Regions from separate parts of the Homo sapiens genome. Here regions 1 and 2 are each linked to region 3. The links are contacts of gene promoters, found by promoter capture Hi-C in human tissues and cell types (Jung and others, 2019). All regions are on one chromosome and are shown on one strand. The core of a region is centred on a gene start or on the middle of the fragment in contact, and the rest is flanking DNA. Distances in the headings are between cores, read along the strand shown. Region 1 overlaps RBM39 (RNA binding motif protein 39). Region 2 has its middle 48 kb from the start of NORAD. Region 3 holds the start of CNBD2 (cyclic nucleotide binding domain containing 2).

What was found. The method cuts DNA at HindIII sites, captures the fragments that hold promoters and counts their contacts. A contact is called where the count stands out against the background at its distance.
Region 1: a fragment that was not itself captured here is called in contact with the fragment with the promoter of CNBD2 in region 3 in 1 of the 25 tissues and cell types used here (IMR-90 fibroblasts).
Region 2: a contact is called between a fragment that was not itself captured here and the fragment with the promoter of CNBD2 in region 3, in 7 of the 25 tissues and cell types used here (H1 embryonic stem cells, IMR-90 fibroblasts, aorta and 4 more).

The regions. Positions count from the first base shown.
Region 1 is chr20:35,730,613-35,733,559 of GRCh38, reverse strand. It overlaps RBM39 (RNA binding motif protein 39), which reads left to right. Exons shown (of 17, transcript NM_184234.3): 4 at 1,425-1,619. Among named protein-coding and RNA genes, the nearest start is that of RBM39, 10 kb to the left of the region's middle. The HindIII fragment of the contact is 3,333 bases long and covers 1-2,947 here.
Region 2 is chr20:36,097,219-36,100,033 of GRCh38, reverse strand. It overlaps a transcript of EPB41L1 not described here. Among named protein-coding and RNA genes, the nearest start is that of NORAD, 48 kb to the right of the region's middle. RefSeq lists an enhancer at 1,798-2,306. The HindIII fragment of the contact is 5,126 bases long and covers 1-2,815 here.
Region 3 is chr20:35,967,244-35,970,023 of GRCh38, reverse strand. It overlaps CNBD2 (cyclic nucleotide binding domain containing 2), which reads right to left and starts at 1,434. Exons shown (of 12, transcript NM_001365709.1): 1 at 1,211-1,434. The coding sequence starts at 1,261. It also overlaps the pseudogene LOC124904982. The HindIII fragment of the contact is 12,223 bases long and covers 1-2,780 here.

The sequences.
Region 1 (2,947 bases), core at 201-2,700, 240 kb after region 3:
TCGGCTCACTCCAACCTCTGCCTCCCAGGTTCAAGCGATTCTCCTGCCTCAGCCTCCACAGTAGCTGGAACTACAGGCCTGTGCCACCACGACCCACTACTTCTTGCATTTTTTAGTAGAGATGGGTTTTCACCGTGTCGACTAGGCTGGTCTTGAACTCCTGACCTCAGGTGACCTGCCTTCCTCAGCCTCCCAAAGTGCTGAGATTACAGGTGTGAGCCACCGCACTTGGAGTTGGGTTTTTTTTTTTTTTTTTGAGATGGTGTTTTGCTCTTTTTGCCCAGGCTGGAGTGCAATGGCATGGTCTCAGCTTGCTGCAACCTCCACCTCCCGGGTTCAAGCAATTCTCTTGCTTCAGCCTCCCAAGTAGCTGTGATTACCGGCATGCACCATCAGGCCTGGCTAATTTTTGTATTTTTGGTAGAGAGGGGATTTCACCGTGTTGGCCGGGCTGGTCTCAAACTCCTGACCTCAAGTGATCTGCCTGCCTCGGCCTCCCAAAGGGTTGGGATTACAGGCGTGAGCCACTGCACTGGCCTGCATTAGTTCTTATTGTCCTTTGTCATTACGGTTTTGCCCATGAAAACCAAAATGTTGATGTCTATGTGACCCTTTGAACGTGTTAAATATTTCCATATGTAAATGGGGGCAAAATTGACTTAATGGTAAATTACTATATTTGATGAAAATTTTTATAAATGAACCAGTACTAGTACTTGAATGTGAAAATATTCTATTGTAAGTTTGTTTTATTAATTTATTTTGTGGATTACAGTAATGCTTTTGTTGGCCTGTTGTATGACAAACTATTTAAAGGTTCACATTTTGATTTGTATTTGCCAACAAGCCCTTTTGCTTGTTAAAGCTATAGCTAACTCTCAGGAGATAATTGCAGTTCTACTCTTAGAGGATGGTGTCTTTCAAATAATGTCTTGTCTGCTGATTTTCAGTAATGTTAATATAAGGCAAAAGGGATATTGTTTACTATACGTAGCAATTTTTTTAGACAGAGTCTTACTCTGTCGCCCAGGCTGGAGTACCAGTGGCGGGATCTTGGCTCACTGCAACCTCCGCTTCCCGGGTTTGAGCAATTCTCCTGCCTTAGCCTCCCGAGTAGCTGGGACTACAGGCGCACGGTACTATGCCCGGCTAATTTTTGTATTTTTATTAGGGACGGGGTTTCACTACATTGGCCAGACTGGTCTTGAACTCCTGACCTTGTGATCTGCCTGCCTCGGCCTACCAAAGTGCTGAGATTACAGGATTTTTTTTTTTTTTTAAGTATGATTATGTACCATTGTATCATAGTAAAACTAGCCAAAGAAATTTATGAAAGGATGAAAAAATGATTCTGGCCATAAAAGGTAGTATATTTTGGTGGGTTCTTAAGCCAGCATGATAATGGCGAGTTTTTTTCTTCTCAGGAGGAAAAAAAGCAAGAGCAGAAGTCGTAGTCATGAACGAAAGAGAAGCAAAAGTAAGGAACGGAAGCGAAGTAGAGACAGAGAAAGGAAAAAGAGCAAAAGCCGTGAAAGAAAGCGAAGTAGAAGCAAAGAGAGGCGACGGAGCCGCTCAAGAAGTCGAGATCGAAGATTTAGAGGCCGCTACAGAAGTCCTTAGTATGTAACTATAGTTATGATTTTGGTTTGAGGGTTATTCTCTGGGTATTCAGATGGCAGTTTAACTTGAGTGATTTGAATTGTGAATTTTTATTTTTTTAATGATTGGTTAAAAAGTATTGAATTAAGGATATTGGCATTGAATACTAGTAAAGTGAAAATACAGTGCATAGACAAATAAGTAAAAATTTGCTTTTACTAGGCATACTGACTATTTTCTGTTAAACTATCAGAGTTTCTAAATTGTATGCCAGTCAACGCAAACTGGATGAAAGCACTAGAGTGCTTGAAAAAGATGACATTGTAGTGCCCAAATACCTAAGAAAGCTTAACAAGTGTCTGGGCTGTTACAGTATTTGCTAAATACATATTTACTTAAAATTGTAAAGTTCTGATGAATACTAAGTTACACATGTATAATTAGTTAACAGTAAATAAAAAGTCTGTCACCGTGGCTGTTTTCAGCTGAAATGTCAGGCCAGTTGTGAATTTGTTGTGTATGCTCATTGATAAAGATCCTTTTTTGGGCTCATCTGTATTTAAGGTTTGTTAATAATAATAAAAGGTATTCCAAACTAAAAGTGTTTTGAAGATTAGATCACTAGAAATTTGGATGTGGATATTTAAAGTTGGAAACAAATATATTATGGTTATTAAATAACTATATTAACCACCTACAATTCTAAGGATTGCATCTAGCAATCTTTAATGCTTTATGAGGTTAATTCCTCTTAATAAACACAGTGCTGTAAACTCTGGGATATATTAAAAATAACCCTTCTAACTTCTAAGATTTGAATGGTTAAGGATGGAATTCAAAGACAAACAGACCCGAATCACTTGGGCAAGATACTTAATCCCCTAAGCTAAGCATTTGTTTTCTAACCTTTTAAGGAGATAATAAGTTTCAGATAAGCTATTAATGAGTAATGAATGAGAAGAAAATGTAAAGTGCTCAGAGGACTTAATGGATTCATGAAATGTTTTGGCATTACATGAATTCCGATTCTGGCTCTTTTATCTTTAAAATAAAAAGAATTAAACTCCGTGATGCTGGTTTCCTCCAAGCTGCTTATTTCATTAACTTTTTAATAGCTGAAAATGGGACCACAATGCTATTTTAATTTCGAATGCTGTACAACATTAGGAACTTCTCTGCTTTTGTCCCATTTATCAAGATTCTGAGCATTTTTAAAATGGGATTATGTTAAATCTTTTTACCAGGATGAACTAAATAAGGGGAAAGGAATTAGCTTAATTCCTTTGAGTGATGGATACTTTGTTTGCTGGGATCATGGCTTAACTTTAATAAAAAATTACTTAGTTCT
Region 2 (2,815 bases), core at 70-2,569, 130 kb before region 3:
CTCCCACCAGAGTAGGCAGAGATGGCCATAGCCAGAGTGATAACAGAACAACCGGCCCATTCAGCCTGCTCACTCAGAGCCCAGGGACCCCTTTCTTGGGGTTCTAATCCTGACAGCAGGACACTCTCCTGTTGCATCCTCACCTCTGGAACATATGCAGAGCCCACTCCAGGCCTCTATCTGCCCTGAGCTCCTGCTTCTGGGCCTAAAGTTGCAACTAGGGAAAAAGCACTGTTCAGACTGAAGACAGGAGCCACAGATAAGGTGTTCCAATTACCACTGACCAGCTGTGTGACTTTGCGGGTGTCACTTTTTCTCCCTGAGCATGTTTCCCTCCTCAGGCTAATAAGGGCAACGGCAAGGACCATCTCTAAGGTCCTCCCAACTCAGACAGAGGCGACACTTCATGGGATGCCTCTGAGCACAAACAGGCAAAGAGGACCTGTCTCAGGAGAGGAGCGGGCTGGGCTGGGCTGGGCTCTGAGGAGAATGCAGCGGATATGACAATGGCCAAGGGTTATTATGATGATTATTATTATAATTAAAAATCACAGCTACAAGCCCTTAAGCAATTTACAAAGAGCTTTCTCATTATCTCCTGGGATCGCAATTTGGTGAAGTAGGCAGGGCTGGATGATGATTATTCACATTTGATAGATGAGGAAAGTAAAGCAAGATTAGGTGACTTGTCCAAGCTCCTAAGTGCAGAGAAGGGAGAGCTGGAAAGGAAGTAGGTATTGAGTGCCTACTGTGTACTACCTCATTAGGCATGCTCATATCTGTTATTTTGATCAAGTCTCATGACCATGACACTACTGTAGGTGCTACTGTCCCATTTCTTTGTTTTGTTTTGTTTTGTTTTTTCGAGACGGAGTCTTGCTCTGTCACCCAGGCTAGAGTGCAGTGGCACAATCTCAGCTCACTGCAATGTCCGCCTCCCAGGTTCAAGCAATTCTCCTGTCTCAGCCTCCCGAGTAGCTGGGATTACAGGTGCCCGCCACCACGCCTGGCTAATTTTTGTATTTTTAGTAGAGACAGCGTTTCACCATGTTGGCCAGGCTGGTCTCAAACTCCTGACCTCAGGAATAATCCGCCTCAGATCACTCAAATTTGAAATACAAATCTGATCAGATGATCTGCCCACCTCGGCCTCCCAAAGTGCTGGGATTACAGGCGTGAGCAACCATGCCTGGCCTACTGTCTCCATTTCATAGAGGCTCCACTGCAAAGCCTAAATTTGGATGTAGCCCTGTGGAACTAAAAGGCATGCACTCCTCCCCAACTTCCTGCATGTATTGGGTTGAACAGTGTCCCCTCCCAACCCAAATTTATGTCTACCTAAAACTTCATAATGTGACCATATTTGGAAACAGGGTCTTTGCAGATGCAATTACTCAAGTTCAAATGAGGTCATACTGGACTAGGGTGGGTTCTAAATCCCATATGACTGGTGTCCTTAGAAGAGGAAATGAAACAGAGAGAAAGCCACGTGACGACAGAGGCAGATGCAGCTGCAAGCCAAGAAATGCCAAAGATTGCTGGCAACCACCAGAAGCTAGGAGAAAGGCAGGAAACAGATTGCCCCAGAGCCTCCAGAAGGAGCCAACCTTGCTGACACCTGGATTTCAGACTTCTAGCCTCCACAAGTGGGGGAGTAAATGTCTGTGGTTCAAAGCTACCTGGTTTGCGTGCTTCATGACAGCACCCCTAGGAAGTTAATACACTGTGCATCCTTTGAGTAGCAGACCTAGGACCCTCAAACTCTGTTTTTCAGATTCCCACTCATTAGGCAGCTTTAGAGGTTAAAGAGGACCCAGAGGCTCCTCATGAGAAGTCACTCTCACCTCTCCTGCACCTTCCAGGGCCAGGCTGTCGTGAAACCAGGCTGAAGACAGGCTTACAGAGGAAAAAGCTTCCTAGAACAGCCTGTTCTAGGTATCTATCCACCCCAGTGGGGCCTCCCATTGAGCTTGTTTAGCAGCCTCTGTGCCCAGGTCTCCAGGTCAACAGTCCTTCCCTTCCTCCCAGACCAACCATCCTCTGTCACCACCTGGAGAGCTGTGTTTTTGAAATGCAAATCTGATCCTTCCTGGTTGGCTTACTCCTCTTCCCCAGCTCCCTGCCGTCTGCAGGACTTGCTCAGGCTCTTTGGCCTGCACCAGATCTGTCCCTAATCTTCCTCTCAGCTTTATCTCCAGTCATTCACTCCTCCACCCTCATCCCTGCCACTCACCACCTCCTATTCCAACCATGTGGAACTATTTGGGGTTCCCCTAAGAAGCCGTTCTGCCTTTGCACATGCTATTTCAAATACCCAGACGGTAAAATCCAGCCCAAACACCATCTCTGTCCTCCAGGAAGCCTTTTCCTCCATAAACAGCCACACCCTGGCAGCTTGTACATTGTCCTTGCGGTGGTATTGCATCTTTACATGTCTGCTCCCACCCCCAACCTGTGAATACTGCTGGATTCATTTCTGTTTTTGTAGGCCTAGGGCCCAATACAAAGGCCTTCAAGAATGTTGAGCTGAATTGTGGAGTAGCAATAATGGTCATAATAGTTGACATTTATCAAATGTTTCTTATGCACTCACATTATGCTAAGCATTCCAAGGATGTTATCTCATTTAATTATCAAAACAATCCTGTGAAACAGATACTAGTACTGGTCCTGTTTTACAAGTAAGGAAATGAGGAAATGGAATCACTTGCCCTAGTCCCCCCAGCTAGTACATGGCAAGCCCCGAATGACTGTAGAGCCAGTGCTAGTAACCACTACTAAGTGTGCCACCCATCCCAATACCTTCATTTTACAG
Region 3 (2,780 bases), core at 185-2,684:
CCTTCATGCCCCAGCCAAATTGTGAAACCATTTTTAACATTGCTAGAAATAATGGAAATGGAAATTAAAGTAATAACATGATACTATTTTGCACTTATCACTGGGAACTGGGAAACATGGTACAACCATGTTGAAGAGCAATTTGGCAACATTATATAAAGTTGAGGATGTGTGTACTTCACAATGGAAGAATTGTATGTACTTTATATGTCCTCTTCAGAGAAACATACATGTACAAGGGGATAGCCATGAGGGTAATCATGGCAACATTGTGTGTAACAGTGAATGGCTGAAAACAAATGTTCATTAGTAGGGATCGAAGGGATCAATACATTATGGTTCAGTCACAGGATTGAACACAGCACTAAGTCTGTGTGTGTCAATGTGGATAAAGCTGAAATGATTTTGAGTGGGAAAAAAGAACTATGATGCTATTTATGGTATCATTTTTAAACAGTGTGCCACATACTATATATTGTTTATGGATACATACACATGTGATAATATATAAAAATATAAACAGGAAGGGTGACACCAACTTCAGGAAAGTGGTTACTATTAAAGAGAAATAAAGGGGCATGGGATGGTAAAGAGCTTTCCCTACACCTGTAATGTTCTATTTCTTAAAAATTAGATATCTATGGAAATATGGGGAAAGGTACTTTATGAATAAAATTAATACTTACTGAGTACAATTTACTATTGTCAGGCATTATCCAAAGCACTATTCTGATATGTAAATCATTTAATCAGTAAATTTATGCAGTAGGTACTAGTATTATCATCTCACTTTACAGAGGAGAAAATAAAGGCACAGCAAACCAAGCAACTTGCCTGGGGTCACATGACTAATAGGTGATAGGGATTTAAACCTAGGTAGTCTGGCTCCAGAGTTCACAAGCTTAACCTATGACTCAATGTTGCTACCCTGACTCTATCCTCCCTCGTTCTCTCTGGATCTCATAATAGCAGGAAGAGTGGGTACAGAACAGGACTCAGTGGCTCTGAGTGTGGCTTATGGCTTGCCCAGTGTGGGGGGCTGGTAGGCTACAGGGCAGGGGTCCCTCCTTTGTGCCATGCTGTGACTCCAAAAGGTACAGGATGGCCACCATTCATCCAAGACCCCTCCTACACCTGCATCGACCTTCCTCAAAACACCTGTCTGTTCAGTCTTCTGCTCTTCCCTCCCAGGGCCCTTGCCCCTCCTCACCAGTTCCTTCTTCAGGAGCTGCCAGGCATAAGTTACCATATGTCTCCTCATGGTTCCTGTGCAGGCAAATGGCACAACTAGCCCCTTTGCCTTTCAAGGGGAGGACTACAAATTTTTCCCCAAAAATCCAGTAATACTAGAAACAAATAGATTTCCTCAGTAACAAGGCAAGAGCTCCACTCCACTCCTCCTACCATACCATCAGCTACTGGAAGCCCTGCTCTGAGAAAAATCATTCTCAGAATCTCCTAAGGTCACAATGAAAGATTCTGGAGGCAGGGGACACAGGGATTGGAATGTGGGAGTCTAACATTTATGGGATACTCACAGGCATTATCTCAGCTAATCCTCACAACCACCCAAACTTTTACTCAACTCCATACATAGGAGACTGGGGCTCAAAGTAGCTAAATGGCTGCCAGAGTCCTGGTGAGACAGGAGAATGGCACAACCCTGCTGACCAAAACAGGATCTAGGACCCCCTAGCTGTCCCCATCCCTCATTAACATAAGACACTCCTACCAGTGCCATGACAGTGTACAAATGTCTTGGCAATGACCAGGAAGTTGCTACCTCTTTCCTAGAAAACTCTAAAAACCCACTCCTTAATTTGCATTAACCTGCCCCTTAATTTGCATTAGCCTGCCCCTTAATTTGCATGTGATTGAAAGTGGGTAGGAATGCGTATACTACACTTGATCTCAGCCAAAAGGCTGAGAAGGGATTAGAGATGAGCATAAATACAGTTGCCAACATCTCATACACTGGGTATCGACTCCGGATTCATTGCCCATGAGTTAGCCCTGCCCCACAAGGAGAAGCACTATTCAATAAAAGATTGCTGTCTAACACCACTGGCTCACCCTTGAATTCCTTCCTTGGGCAAAGCCAAGAACTCTCCTAAGCTAAGTCTCAATTTGGGGGCTCACCTGTCCTGCAAAGATAGGGCTTTTTTGTTTTTTGAGACACTGTCTCACTTTGTTCCCAGGATGGAGTGCAGTGGCCCAATCTCAGCTCACTGCAACCTCTGCCTCCCAAATTCAAGTGATTCTCCTGCCTCAGCCGCCCAAGTAGCTAGGATTACAGGCGTGTGCCACCATGCCCGGCTGATTTTTGTATTTTTAGTAAAGACAGGCTTTCACCACGTTGCCCAGGCTGGTCTCAAGCTCCTGACCTCAAGTGATCCACCCACCTCAGCCTCCCAAAGTGCCGGGATTACAGGCATAAACCACCACTCCTGGCCAGGGCCTTTTTTTTTTTTTTTTTTTTAAGAAAGCAGTGTAGCTAAATGTCAGGTACACTTGCTCTCCATTTGTAGCATCCAATTAACAGAAGCAAGGTCTGGTCCAGCCTGGCCAATGTGGTGAAACCCCATCCCTACTAAAAATACAAAAAAATTAGCCGGGTGAGGTGGTGGGCACCTATAATCCCAGCTACTCGGGAGGCTGAGGTGGGAGGATCACTTGAACCCGGGAGGCAGAGGTTGCAGTCAGCCAAGATTGTGCCACTGCACTCCAGCCTGAACGACAGAGCAAGACTCTGTCTCAAAAAAAAAAAAAAAAAAAAAAAA